2 separate regions of the Homo sapiens genome follow, and region 2 is linked to region 1. Evidence: promoter capture Hi-C in 16 types of primary human blood cells and fetal thymus (Javierre and others, 2016). All regions are on one chromosome and are shown on one strand. Each heading gives the region's core, a stretch centred on a gene start or on the middle of the fragment in contact. The rest is flanking DNA. Distances are from core to core; before and after follow the strand shown. Region 1 has its middle 20 kb from the start of GABRR3. Region 2 holds the start of OR5K4 (olfactory receptor family 5 subfamily K member 4).

Region 1 (6,310 bases), core at 1,070-3,569:
AAAGCAGAAGCTTTGAGAAAACGAGTTTCAGGCCTGCACAGACTTGGGAAGTGAAGACTTTAGCTACAGTTATACAGAATTGGTGACTAGTTAATAGAAATAAAAATATGTCACGTTGTAACACCTACTGGCTGGCCTTGTCATTAAACCTTAAGAGTTGTAAATCTAATACTTATAAATGTTCCCTTGAATGGTTGTATACTTAGGCCTACTGTTTTATAAGTAGGTAGTTCCTGCTTTAGATCAACAAGGCAGGGATTTGAATATGTAAAACATATTTTATGTCCGGAATTATGCAAAGTTTGTCATTAAAGACATGTATTGATGATACAGACATATTTTTTCACCCTGTGTTTCCACAGGATCTCGTTTAGTTTCCTTTCCATTTACTTTCCAGGCTTGTAAAACTCATGGATACACTTTTAGCTTGAGGCTTTTTCTGCATTGCCTTACCTATGTTTATGTTAGTCATTGCCTATTAATTTGGTTAATCCTTTCTCCCCATTTAATTTGTTATTTAAATAAAATTTATAATTTACTATTTAACTTATCACTTAAATTGAATCCAGATATTCAAAACACTGGCCATTCTTTCTACTATGATGTTTTTGTAATGTTTTATTCCACCTTGACTGTGATAGTCCCGTTTGTAATACCAAGAGGATCAGATCATTTTTTGTTCTAGAAAGATAAAAAAGTTCCTGAAAGAATGAGAAAATACACTTTTGAACCCAAAACAAAGTCTCATTTTCTAAGATTTTGGCATAAAATATACCGTGTACCTTTTGCTCTTAAAACACTTCGTTGTTAATACATTCAATTTTAAGGTACTTATGAGTGGCAGGCTATGGGACTAGTTAGTTCTTGTCTAGAATCTCCTCTATAACCCTCAAGAAATAATATGTATTTTAAAAAAATCTTACCATTTTTTCAGTGTACAATATACAATTTCTTACATTGATCCATTTATTAACTCATTAGTGATTTTGTGGTTTTCACTGCTTTTATACAAGCTTTTGCTTTTATGATCATCATAGTTTCTTATACCCAAGTCCTCTTTGCCTTACTGAAAAAGAATTCTGAGAAGGGCAGAAGCAAAAGCTTCCTCATGTGCAGTGCCCACCTGCTCTCTGTCTCTTTGTTCTATAGCAGTGTCTTCTTCATGTATGGGTGCCCCAGGTCTGGCCCAGATTAACAGTGGAATGAAATGTATTTTCCGTTCTACATGATTATAATTCCTCTGCAGACTCCTTTATTTACAGTATGAAAAACAAAGAAGTTTTAGGTACACTTAGAACAATGATAAAGAAATATTTTTGGAGAACACTTTCATAATTCTTTCCATTTCCTTTCTGTTAAAACAAATCGTAATAATTGTTTCTGTGTTTTACACATAGTAGGGACACAATATGTTAAGTGAATGAATAAAAAAATTTAGACTAAATATTCTTGTCTTAGTTATAAGTTATTCTGATCATTAAAATAGTTAATGAGCATTTAAGGACAAACACCACATTTTTGTTGTTGTTTTAAGTACATACTCAAGGATGAAGTTCAAACTGAAATTATAATGCCACATTACTGTTTTTGTAACATGAATGAAACACAAGAGTTCATTCATTTTACAAAGACTTAGTAACAAGTTTTTGTAACATGAATGAACTACATGAAATACAGACATACATGTTTTAGAACTTACTTGCAGTTATTTAAAGGAAGACCCCACCTATATAATTTAAAAAGTGTTCAAAGTATTCATGCACTTCTAAATAATTCTTGAACAAGGCATTTTTCAAACTTTCTCTTTAGCAGATATTTATAATAATATATCAGAATGTTAATAAAAATAATACTGTTAGGCCAAATATGACAACACATATCCTCTTAAAACATTTAAAACTAAGATTTCCATTTGGTTTAAAAGCAATTTTGAAAAGTAACATGTTTCATTGCCTCCATTGAAAGATATGTAAATGTAACAACAAAAATACTAAAAGTAATTCAAATTTCTGCAATATAGTTAGAAAATTTCTGAGTTCTTCTAAAACTTTTACTTTTTAATTTATTGAGTAGTCCTACTGAGCACTGCATTCCTGACACACATATCCTACCTGAATAGTGTTTTCTGGCATTGACACCTGCCTGAACCAGCAGGTGTGCTTGATCAACTGTCAGTTAAATATATTAAGCTAATTTTTTTTCTTACCTACATTGTGTATATATTCTATCTGGCCCTTTCATGAGTAGGCAAACTTTGACCTCCTTACTTTTATTACTTAGACTCTTGAGAATACTCAAGAGAGTATTCTCTTGAGAAAATACTCAAGAAAGATTTTTCCATATGCATAATACATTGCTTTTACCCTGGCTTTAAAAAAAAGTGAAGAAATGGCAGTTTGTTGAATGATATAACCCAAAGCCCCAAATGAGGCACAGTGGCTTTAGGAATAGTTTGTTAGGGTTCAGTTTTTTCAGAACCCGGTTCCTCTCATTGCATCTGAGCTGTGCCTTCTGCTGTGGGGACTCCATTTTAAGCAGGTGTACCCTGTGGCTGCAGAATCTCTGCAGGAGTTCCTGTCTCCATCTCTCTATAGTCAACCCCAGCGACAAAGTGTTCTAATTTTATATGTAATATGCCATACAGGCTGATTAGTCTTGCCTACATAGTGGCCGTATGTCAATGTATAACCTTTCTCTCTCATCATTACACCTATATTATTTCAAGAAAAATCCCCACTGATTTGGGTTGAGACCTAGAGACCAGAGTACTACATTCTACATGCTTTCCTCAGCTAGATTCACATAGAGCAGGACTGACATCCTCACACTCCCCGAGAGGAAAACAGCCACAGGCAGCTATATAGTCAAAGGGGACAATAGTTTTGCAAATATTAAACAATGGAAATTAATTTCTTATTTTAACATTTTTTTTCATAGTTTCTGAGGTGGGAAAAATCTAGTACTTGACCTTTTAACAAGATAGCCTGAAGAGCAGACTTTTAAATTACTTATGTCTGAGTCCTGAATCATGTCCCTTAAAGAGGCAGTTCATTGGCTGAGCAGAAATCCCAAATCACAGAGCTGTACTAATTGGTTAGTTAATTAGGGCACTCCCAGGTGAGAAATGTTGAAGACTGGCAGACACTAACTTCCATTGTTCATCCAAGTCCGTTGGCACAATCTGTGGTTTGACTTTTAGAGGTGTTAGTGCAATTCTCTCACAATCTCCTAGCTCCACTTTAGAATGCCTGCACCTTAGTTACCTCAGTTTCTTTCATACAACCTTAATTACCTCTGAAGCATGAATTCCCCTTTGCCAGGTAACCTAACATATTCACAGGTTCTGGGAATTAAGATGTGTACATATGTGGCAGGAGCATTATTGCGTACATCAAAGGTAGACTTGGAAAAGAGTGTGTTTTGTCCAGATTCCAATTTATGGCACTAGAAATCATTTCTGGCTCTGCTCCTTCCTTACCTGGCTACCTCAAAGTAAACTTGGTTTGCAAAGTACGTAGGCAGCAGACCCTTGAAGGTTAAGCTTTAGAGGCTGGTCCCCATCACCATCTTGCATGGCCAGGACCTGCAAATTCCTGCAGCGACAGAAAGAAGCCAAGAGACTCACTCATGCAACAGGTGGGTTGGGACATGTAGGTGGAGGACATAAGAGAGACCCTGAGGGGTGACCACATCAATGAGACCCAAGAGAGTCAGAACAGCCTTGGAGGGCAGCTGGGACCCTACCCATACTAGTTGACCAGATCAATAGTTCCAATAGGCACTGACTTTGGCTGTAAAAGCTGGCACCATGCCAAGCCCAGAAGAGTCAGACAGTATTAGTAGGACAGAGACCTTCACTTTACTCCCAAAAGATCACAGGCCTTTCCCTGCTCCATATTCTCATATTCATCTCAGAGGTTTACATGAAAAAATTAAAATTAGTCAAGTTAATTTTCTGTCATTTAGAGCATGACAGCTCTTGCTATATCTATTCCATGAACTGCTTAACAAAATCATTGATTAGAATCACAGACTCCGGTCATCTCCAGGCTGAGGTCATGACCCATGAGAGAATGGATCGGAAGTAATAGGATACGGGACAATCGACTAACCCCTCTTCTTAAACTCTGGACTTTTGGAGAGTTGTTTTCACTGAGAAAAGCCCAAGTCCAATAGTGATAACTCAGTTCATAAGTGATGGCCTGGGACATGCTGTAGAGACTAGGTGTGGGAGGACATATTCAGAGTCCCTAGCTGAGTCAGAAATAGAACCTGCAGCTTGTCTCACAGGAGCCAAGGCCAACATGAGAGATCCTGGCAGATTGGGAAGGGACATCACATGAATCGTGCAAGAATCAGCTCATCCACCTATTTCCACACAAGCTAGGCAACTGAGGCAGAGATGGAACTACAACTTGAAAGTGAACATGAGCATATGAGAGAGGAGAAAGAGAAGAAAAGATTGAGGAGACAGCCTACACTTTCTGACACCATTACAAAGATAACTGCTCAGCCTCCAGTGGGTCCACCCTATGCTCATACCTACACAAGGGAGGCCCTGCTGACCATGTAGCTGGAATTCCTGGGACAGGGATGCATTATACTGTGGATGGAGGGAGCTTCCTAGTAGGAGAAAAGACTTTCATCCAGTAACCAATTTTACTTAGCCAAACTACAACAGAACATAGTAGAAAATTCAACTCAGGTCTTTCTAGAAGCAAGGTAAGCAAACTTAGCAAACTTGAGTCCATTCAAAAGACTCTTACCCTAAAAAAGAGTAAGAGTCTTTTGAATGGACTCATGTTTACTAAGGAGAGAAAGTAATGGGGAGGAAGAGAATGAAAAGTATTAATTTTCTTTTATCAGTTGCCTCTCTGAGTATAGAGCTGGTTCCATAGTTTGCATAAGGGTTCTATCTGTCTGGGAATATATTTTAAATTGTTGTAGAAGTAATGCAAAGAGAAAAAAAGGAATTCCTCTTCTGACTTCAAAAACAGGAATTTGTCTTGAAGGAATATTACATTATTTTACACAGATTTTTAGTATATTAAGAAATGAACTGGAAGTCTTAGAGATTAGAGTTCTATACTGTAAATATGGCTATGTCTGCTAGGCTAAGCCTGGTTTCTTCATCGCACAAGGAGAATACAAAGTAAGAGAAGTAAAAAATGAGCCCATATTTTCTCACTTAGTGGTGAGGGGAGAAGAGTAAGTGGATAGAGAGCAAAGGGAAGCAGTCAGGTAACTATATCCCAATTTTGTTGTTACAGGCTCCAATTTGGAGTTTCAGAGGTTTGTAGATAGTTTTAATAGAGCCTGAGGGAGGGAAGTCTTCTAGCCAGAGTCTTGTTTTAGAGTGTAGAAAGGAACCAGTCTTTCCTGCATAACACTGGGGCATGGCCTGCAGCATGGCTAGGCAGAGGGTGGCCTAGAAGTTTTCCTCCCTCTATGTGTTGTGATGGGACCAGGAGCCCCAGAGTATCACTGAGGGGAGCACTCAGGCTGTATGTGACCTTCTATTTGGGTGATATATGAAATTCCTTGAATCGATAGGTAATTTAATTTGCTCTTATGTAGCTCTCACTGAACTCAGGTATTTACTTCTTATGCAACTCCACACTGCTCTAAAACTGATTTTTAAATGAAAAAAAACTAGTTTTGTGCTTTCACTATTTACAAAACAAAATTCAGCACTATATAACATTTCCTCCATACCCTTGAGCAATATCTTTGGAGATGAGTTTCAAGTTACTACAGTGCTGCAGAGCAGGAAACCTTTGACTTGGAAGCCATGAACAAACCATAAAAATCCACAAAGAATGAAATGTACCCCTTTATACAGGGAGACTTATGGACGTTTTCATTTGCAAAATGTTAGAGGCAACCTTTACAACTCAAGAGGGCTGTTGTGTAAATATACTTTTTTTCTTTCAGATTCTGTGACTTAACACTTTTCAAATAGTCTAGTTCTTGAAAGTGGTTAAAGCATCTCAGATAAAGTCAGGTCATAGGTTTCCCTGGCATTTAAAGGATTTGCAAATTCCTGTGGTCTTTTTTAGAACAAGCAGCTCTATCCAAAAATAGACCATCAAAGGCTTCTACGTTAGTTTGTTCTCACACTACTGTAAAGAACTACCTGAGACTGAGTAAGTTATGAAGAAAAGACATTTAATCACCTCACAGTTCTACAGGCTTAACAGAAAGCATGACTGGGAGGCCTCGGGAACCTTACAATCATGATGGAAGGGGAAGCAAGCACCTTCTTCACTGGCGGCAGGAGAGAGAGAAAGCAAAGGGGGAAGTGCTACGC
Region 2 (6,310 bases), core at 1,748-4,247, 300 kb after region 1:
AAATATTTCTAATGCATAAGAGCATATCTACACACTAGAGAAAAGATGGGGATAGGAGACCAATTAACAAGTAAGTTATCTTATGATGATGGCATTGATTATGGTAATAGTTTTGTGGGTGTATACTTATGTCCCAATTTATCAAGTTGTATACATTATATGTGTATAGCTTTTTGCACATAAATCATACCTCAATTAAGTTTTTTAAAGTTACCTTATGACAAATAAGTGAAACTGAAGAACATAATGTCAGACTTACTTCAGAGGATGAATGTACAAGATTTGACCAGATTAATTTGGGGAGCAAAAGAAAGGAATACAACCCTGGGTGATCCTGCCACATTTTTGCCTCTTGTCCACAAATACAAATCTCTCTTCAAATCTCTGTTTAACTTCCACCTCAACTGATCAATGTAAATCTTTTTCTCTCCATCATAGTTTTCAGGTAATCAAGGGGTGTGTGTGTGTGTGTGTGTGTGTGTGTGTGTGTGTGTCTGTGTGTAAGAGAAAGAGAGAGTTTCCAAGTATGTGAAAAATCAAGATGAACCTTAAGCTGTTTTTAGTGATAGCAATTTTGATTTAACTTCCGAATCTCAAAATGCATCCATCTTTATATGCTGTTTGATTTACTGGTGCTGGGGGAACCATGCTCATCAGATTAGAGTCTCTGCAGAAACACTCTGATGCCAATGCCGAGGAAGTCCCTTTAGAATAGAAAACTTTAACTTTGCCTGAGACTTGCATAACTATTGTCACTAACCTATTGGTAGGGAGTGTCCTAGATTTTTATAATTTATTCCCTAATGATTTAAAAACCAATGTTTTTATTCTTAATTTCCCTACAAAGAAAAAACATCAGGAGACCAGTCAGCTACTATAAAATGTTTCTCAGTGAACTCAAAATATGAGGACTTAATTTTATTTACTAATTTATTTATATTATAGTATCAAAATGCAGAATATAAATTTTCTAATATACTTCAGTATTTTTATTGTTTTTAAATTTTAGCCACTTAATAATTCTCTTTGTCTCTAAAGTGAAGCCATTATAGAAAGCCATAAGGAGACATAGTAAGTGGATAAGTCTGACCTATTCTTTGTTCAAAAGTACCATAATTTTATCAGCAAATACACAGATAAGGCTGATGATGTCCTTGTACAGTAATTCTGCGATCTATAGGCAAATTAATTTTTGATTAAGTTCAAAAATTATATTTTACATTGGTGAAGAGAAAATGAGATTTTACTCATTATATTCTGAAATATGATCTATATAAAATAATTATTGATAATAAAATCCATTTTTCCACAGTCCACCTGATAAATATTTTCAGTTGATTTTCCATTAGATGTTACTAAAATAATGATAAAGAGCAGCATTTTATACTTTTACAAAGTTTTTTTAAAAATATAATTCTGAAAGATTTTTTAAAAGAGGTATAGACCTAAAATATAAAGGACATTTTATTGTATTCATTTGATTACAAGCCTCTAGTGATAAAACTCCAGAAAACCTCATCATATTATGTGAGTCAATAGAAAAACAAAAGTAAGAAACAGAGAAAACCTAACCAAAATGTTTTCAAAGTAATTCACTGGCCGGGCGAGGTGACTCATGCCTGTAATCCCAGCATTTTGGGAGGCCGAGGCGGGCGGATCGCCTGAGGTCAGGAGTTCGAGACCAGCCTGACCAACATGGTGAAACCCCGTCTCTACTAAAAATACAAAATTAGCCAGGCATGGTGGCTCATGCCTGTAATCCCAGCTACTCGGGAGGCTGAGGCAGGAGAAGTGCTTGAAACTCTGTCTCAAAAAAAAAAAAAATGTGCTTTGAATTAACTATCGTAGGCTCTTCTCCAAAATTGTCTGTTTGGAGTATGCTAAGGCTAAAGACTTTTAGAAACTTCTAAAAGAAAAGAAAGTTAATTTTATTATTCTTTAAAACTCAAATTGTTTCTGTACCTGAAATATTTTAATGTACAGTTGCCAAACTATAAGAACTATATAATAAATTTAGTTGATCATTAAACTCAAATAAATATATAGCCAGTAAAGAGTAGATAATGAGTTTGTAAATTTAAATAAATTTAAAACTCAAGTAAATAAATGGAGAACCTCCATAGAACTCACTGAAAATGAAGACATTACTTTCTATGAGAGATGTTTGAGTGAATACAAAATAGATATTTACCATGAAGAATATTCACATTATGAGTGGAGATTTTGCCACCAAATCTTACAATGTTGGACATGCATGTAAAACTCTTAAAACTAGAGACAGAAAGTATTAGGATAAGTGAGCAATTAAGAGTAATAACTCCTTGGGAAATTTGTCATACCAAGATTGGAATAGTATCTAGAATATGTTGAAATGAACATAAAAATGATATCCAATACAATGATTAAGAACACTCATAGATGTTTCATATTCTTATCCTCTCTAAAAGGATGAGTAGATATCTCATAAAATATGCAATTGGTGACCTTATCTGGAAAGGGTTACTAAGCTAGCAAAAGCATTCTTCAAATCACTGTGTTTCTGTGCAGTTTTTAAAATGTAGACATTTAAAATGCCTTAAGAGTAATTCATTTTAAGCGTCACATTGATCCAATAGGATACGATTTAAAACTTGTTTACTTTTTCCTGGAGGAAAAGATACCATAAGAAAATGTCTTAATTTTGGAAATGGAAAATTATATGTACTGACCACAGATTTTACATCGGCATAGGATAATTCATGCAGATAAAGCTTTCCTGCCCTAGGAATTCACACAGATATTTTCAGACAAGCCCTGGGTACACAATCCATGATACATTTTTTCTCACTTGATTTGACCCACAGTGAGTGTGCTAGTGTTTAGGAGATGGCACAGGATAATTTGAAGAAGACTTTCTTCCCTTTTGTATACAGGGAAATTAGAGGGTGAGAATTAGAAACATTCTGCTTTGGAATCTTACATTTCTTTACAATTTATGTCTCAGAAGAGAAGCCAGGAATGGCTAGGGAAAATCACTCCTTAGCAGCTGAATTCATCCTCATAGGATTTACAAATTATCCAGAGCTGAAGACGCTTCTGTTTGTGGTGTTCTCTGCCATCTATCTGGTCACCATGGTGGGGAATCTTGGTCTGGTGGCATTAATTTATGTAGAGCGTCGTCTTCTCACACCAATGTACATCTTTCTGGGCAACCTGGCTCTGATGGATTCCTGCTGTTCCTGTGCTGTTACCCCCAAGATGTTAGAGAATTTCTTTTCTGAGGATAGAATTATTTCCCTGTATGAATGTATGGCACAATTTTATTTTCTCTGTCTTGCTGAAACCACAGACTGCTTTCTTCTGGCGACAATGGCCTATGACCGCTATGTGGCCATATGCCACCCACTGCAGTACCACACCATGATGTCCAAGACGCTCTGCATTCGGATGACCACAGGGGCCTTCAAAGCTGGAAACCTGCATTCCATGATTCATGTAGGGCTTTTATTAAGGTTAACTTTCTGCAGGTCTAATAAAATTCACCACTTTTTCTGTGATATTCTTCCACTGTATAGACTCTCCTGTACAGATCCTTCTATTAATGAACTAATGATATATATCTTTTCAATACCAATTCAAATCTTTACCATTGCTACTGTCTTGATCTCTTATCTCTGCATCCTTTTGACTGTTTTCAAAATGAAATCCAAGGAGGGAAGAGGTAAAGCATTTTCTACCTGTGCATCCCACTTTCTCTCTGTCTCAATATTTTACATTTGTCTTCTCATGTATATTGGACCATCTGAAGAAGGAGATAAAGATACACCAGTGGCAATATTTTATGCAATAGTAATCCCATTACTAAACCCTTTTATTTATAGTCTGAGAAATAAGGAGGTCATAAATGTTCTTAAAAAAATTATGAGGAATTATAACATTCTTAAACAAACTTGCTCTATAGCAAATTTATTTTTAATTTATTAAAATGCTTTCATAAAGAGGGAACATAGAAAAATTAATATGTGATTTTACACAAAATGTAAGCTTATAAATCATTAGGCTATGTTTGTTTAAAAAATATATCAATGGAATTTCAAAATTGTTTCACAAATCTTTATCCAAATCCCACAACCAGAATGAATCGGGGAAACTCACTGGTAACTGTTATTACTACCTTTCATGACTCTCATGGAATTGTCAGAGAGTATTATCCTAAACCTCAATTAATCAACATAGCATGAAAGTTAAATGTTTAAATGTGTAGAAGAGTCTTCTTTGATTAATGTTTCCTAGTTAATGGAAGACATTATATCCAATCCTATGTAGCGTGTTTGAAACATTTAAAATTTCCTGGCAGAAAAGTGAAATGATAGTTTTCTTTCAGAAAACTGACCTGAGAGACACATGTGGATTACTTTAGAGTGGAAAAGACTAGAAGCAAACTAATTGCAGTAATTTATATTTAAGGTAATGAAGTTTTATTTAGATAAGATTGCAAGAATGAAAAAAAATGAAAAGGAACACACACACACATACACAGACATATACAGACACAGACACACACATACACACATGCAAAGAGGCTCACCTACAAAATATTCTATTTTGCAGAATAATTAATTGTGACTTATAACAAATTGGACAGAGTAGATTAAGGTCTACTTTAGCCAGAAGCATAATTAAGTTCCTTTTCATTCTTGAAGGCATCAACCATGTTATTGGCTATGTATTATATATAACTACAGTTTACATATTAACACTCATTAAACATTTTAAAACATATTAATAATGACATTGTTTTATTTTTGAGTAATGGTAAGCTGTACCAATATTTTATGTGTTTATTGACCATTTTTACTTTTATGAATTGTCATTTTTGTTTTGTCTGTTTTATTTCTTATTTATATCATTGTTTACAGAGAAAAGACATCACAACTATTTGTGGCAAATAATTCTTCTGTGGGTTGATAGTCTTAGTATTTGTTTCTGATATTTATAAATATTTTAATTTAATATACTCATATTTACTTATTTTTTCTATGATCTCTTTCATGCATTTCATCCAGAATTTCTTTTTTAATCCAGTCTACTATTAACCAATATTTCTTTTTCTCCTTTTCTTATTTCTCTTCTTCTCCTTCTCCCTATTTTCCTCCTCCTTCCTTTTTTGATATTTTAAATTTTTGCAACTTGACTCTTGATTCTTCCTGGAATTTATTTAGTATATGGCATATTAAAGATATAACTTTATTTGGCTGTTTCTCTAAAAAATATTTATAAACTAATTTAATTCAAATAAACACTCAGGAGAACTTCTTTGGGAACCTGGCAAAATGAATTTAAAATTTTTTCATATTCTAGATTTTTCTAGAAAATAAAAAAAATACCTTATGTGTTATATATTAAAATATATGATAAAATTCCAATAATGATAACAGTTTGGTTTTAAATCAAGAATCAATAAACAAACCAACAGAACAAATCAGATTGTTCAAAAGTAAACTCTCATATAAAATAAGAAGGGCATCACAAATAACAAGGAAATAAAGGATTGTTCAGTAGCCGTGGGACAACTGGGTAACTATCTCTTCCATTCATGTTAAAATGTATATCTTCCTGTCATTTAGATATATATTTGTAGACAAAATTTGTATTTCCTTCATTTTTCATAGTTTGATTTTTAATATACAGCAACCAACTGGAATTTATTTTATAATGTTATAAAGTGAGAATTAAAATTTGATTTATGGCTAACCAGTAGTCCCAGAAGCATTTATTGACAAACTCTTCTCTAACTGATTTCTTATGTCTCCTTTTTGTACATTTATGCTCATACATTCACATGTACATGCATACACAGAGAGGTCTATTTCTAGCCCGTTTGTACAACAAAAACAAGACGGTTCTAGTTCGTACACTTCTGTCTCAGGAGGGAAGATGGACATTTTAAAAGGCAATCAAACTAAAAAGCTATAAGTTATAATTGAGGAAGACTCTTATGCTTCTACCTAAAGTCTATTGTTAGGGTTCTATAACATTTATATATAAAATATCTATTCACTCTATTCTTTCTTTCTATGTGACCTCATCTATTTTTTTTTTTTTGGCCTTTAATTTCATCAATATGAAGATGGCTCAGAATGTATATTTCCACCTCTGATATCCTCCCTGCTCTCCAGTCTCACATGTGCAACTGCCTACTTCACATAATTACTTAAATGTTGCAAAGACATCTCAAATTCAACATGATCAAAGCACAAGTCTTGAATTTCCCACTAAACATGGTCCTCCCCTGGTCTTCTCCATTATGATGGTCACATCCTCCAACCAG

Evidence for each region. Contacts are between HindIII fragments. The CHiCAGO score rates a contact against its expected background, and 5 or more counts as called.
Region 2: the fragment with the promoter of OR5K4 here is called in contact with a fragment that was not itself captured in region 1 in 4 of 17 cell types (endothelial precursors, naive CD8 T cells, naive CD4 T cells and 1 more); the score reaches 7.4 in endothelial precursors.

What each region holds. Positions count from the first base shown.
Region 1 is chr3:98,052,430-98,058,739 of GRCh38, forward strand. It overlaps the pseudogene OR5BM1P. Among named protein-coding and RNA genes, the nearest start is that of GABRR3, 20 kb to the left of the region's middle. The HindIII fragment of the contact is 2,440 bases long and covers 1,100-3,539 here.
Region 2 is chr3:98,350,857-98,357,166 of GRCh38, forward strand. OR5K4 (olfactory receptor family 5 subfamily K member 4) reads left to right here and starts at 2,998. Exons shown (of 1, transcript NM_001005517.1): 1 at 2,998-3,963. The coding sequence starts at 2,998. The coding sequence ends at 3,963. The HindIII fragment of the contact is 1,273 bases long and covers 2,749-4,021 here.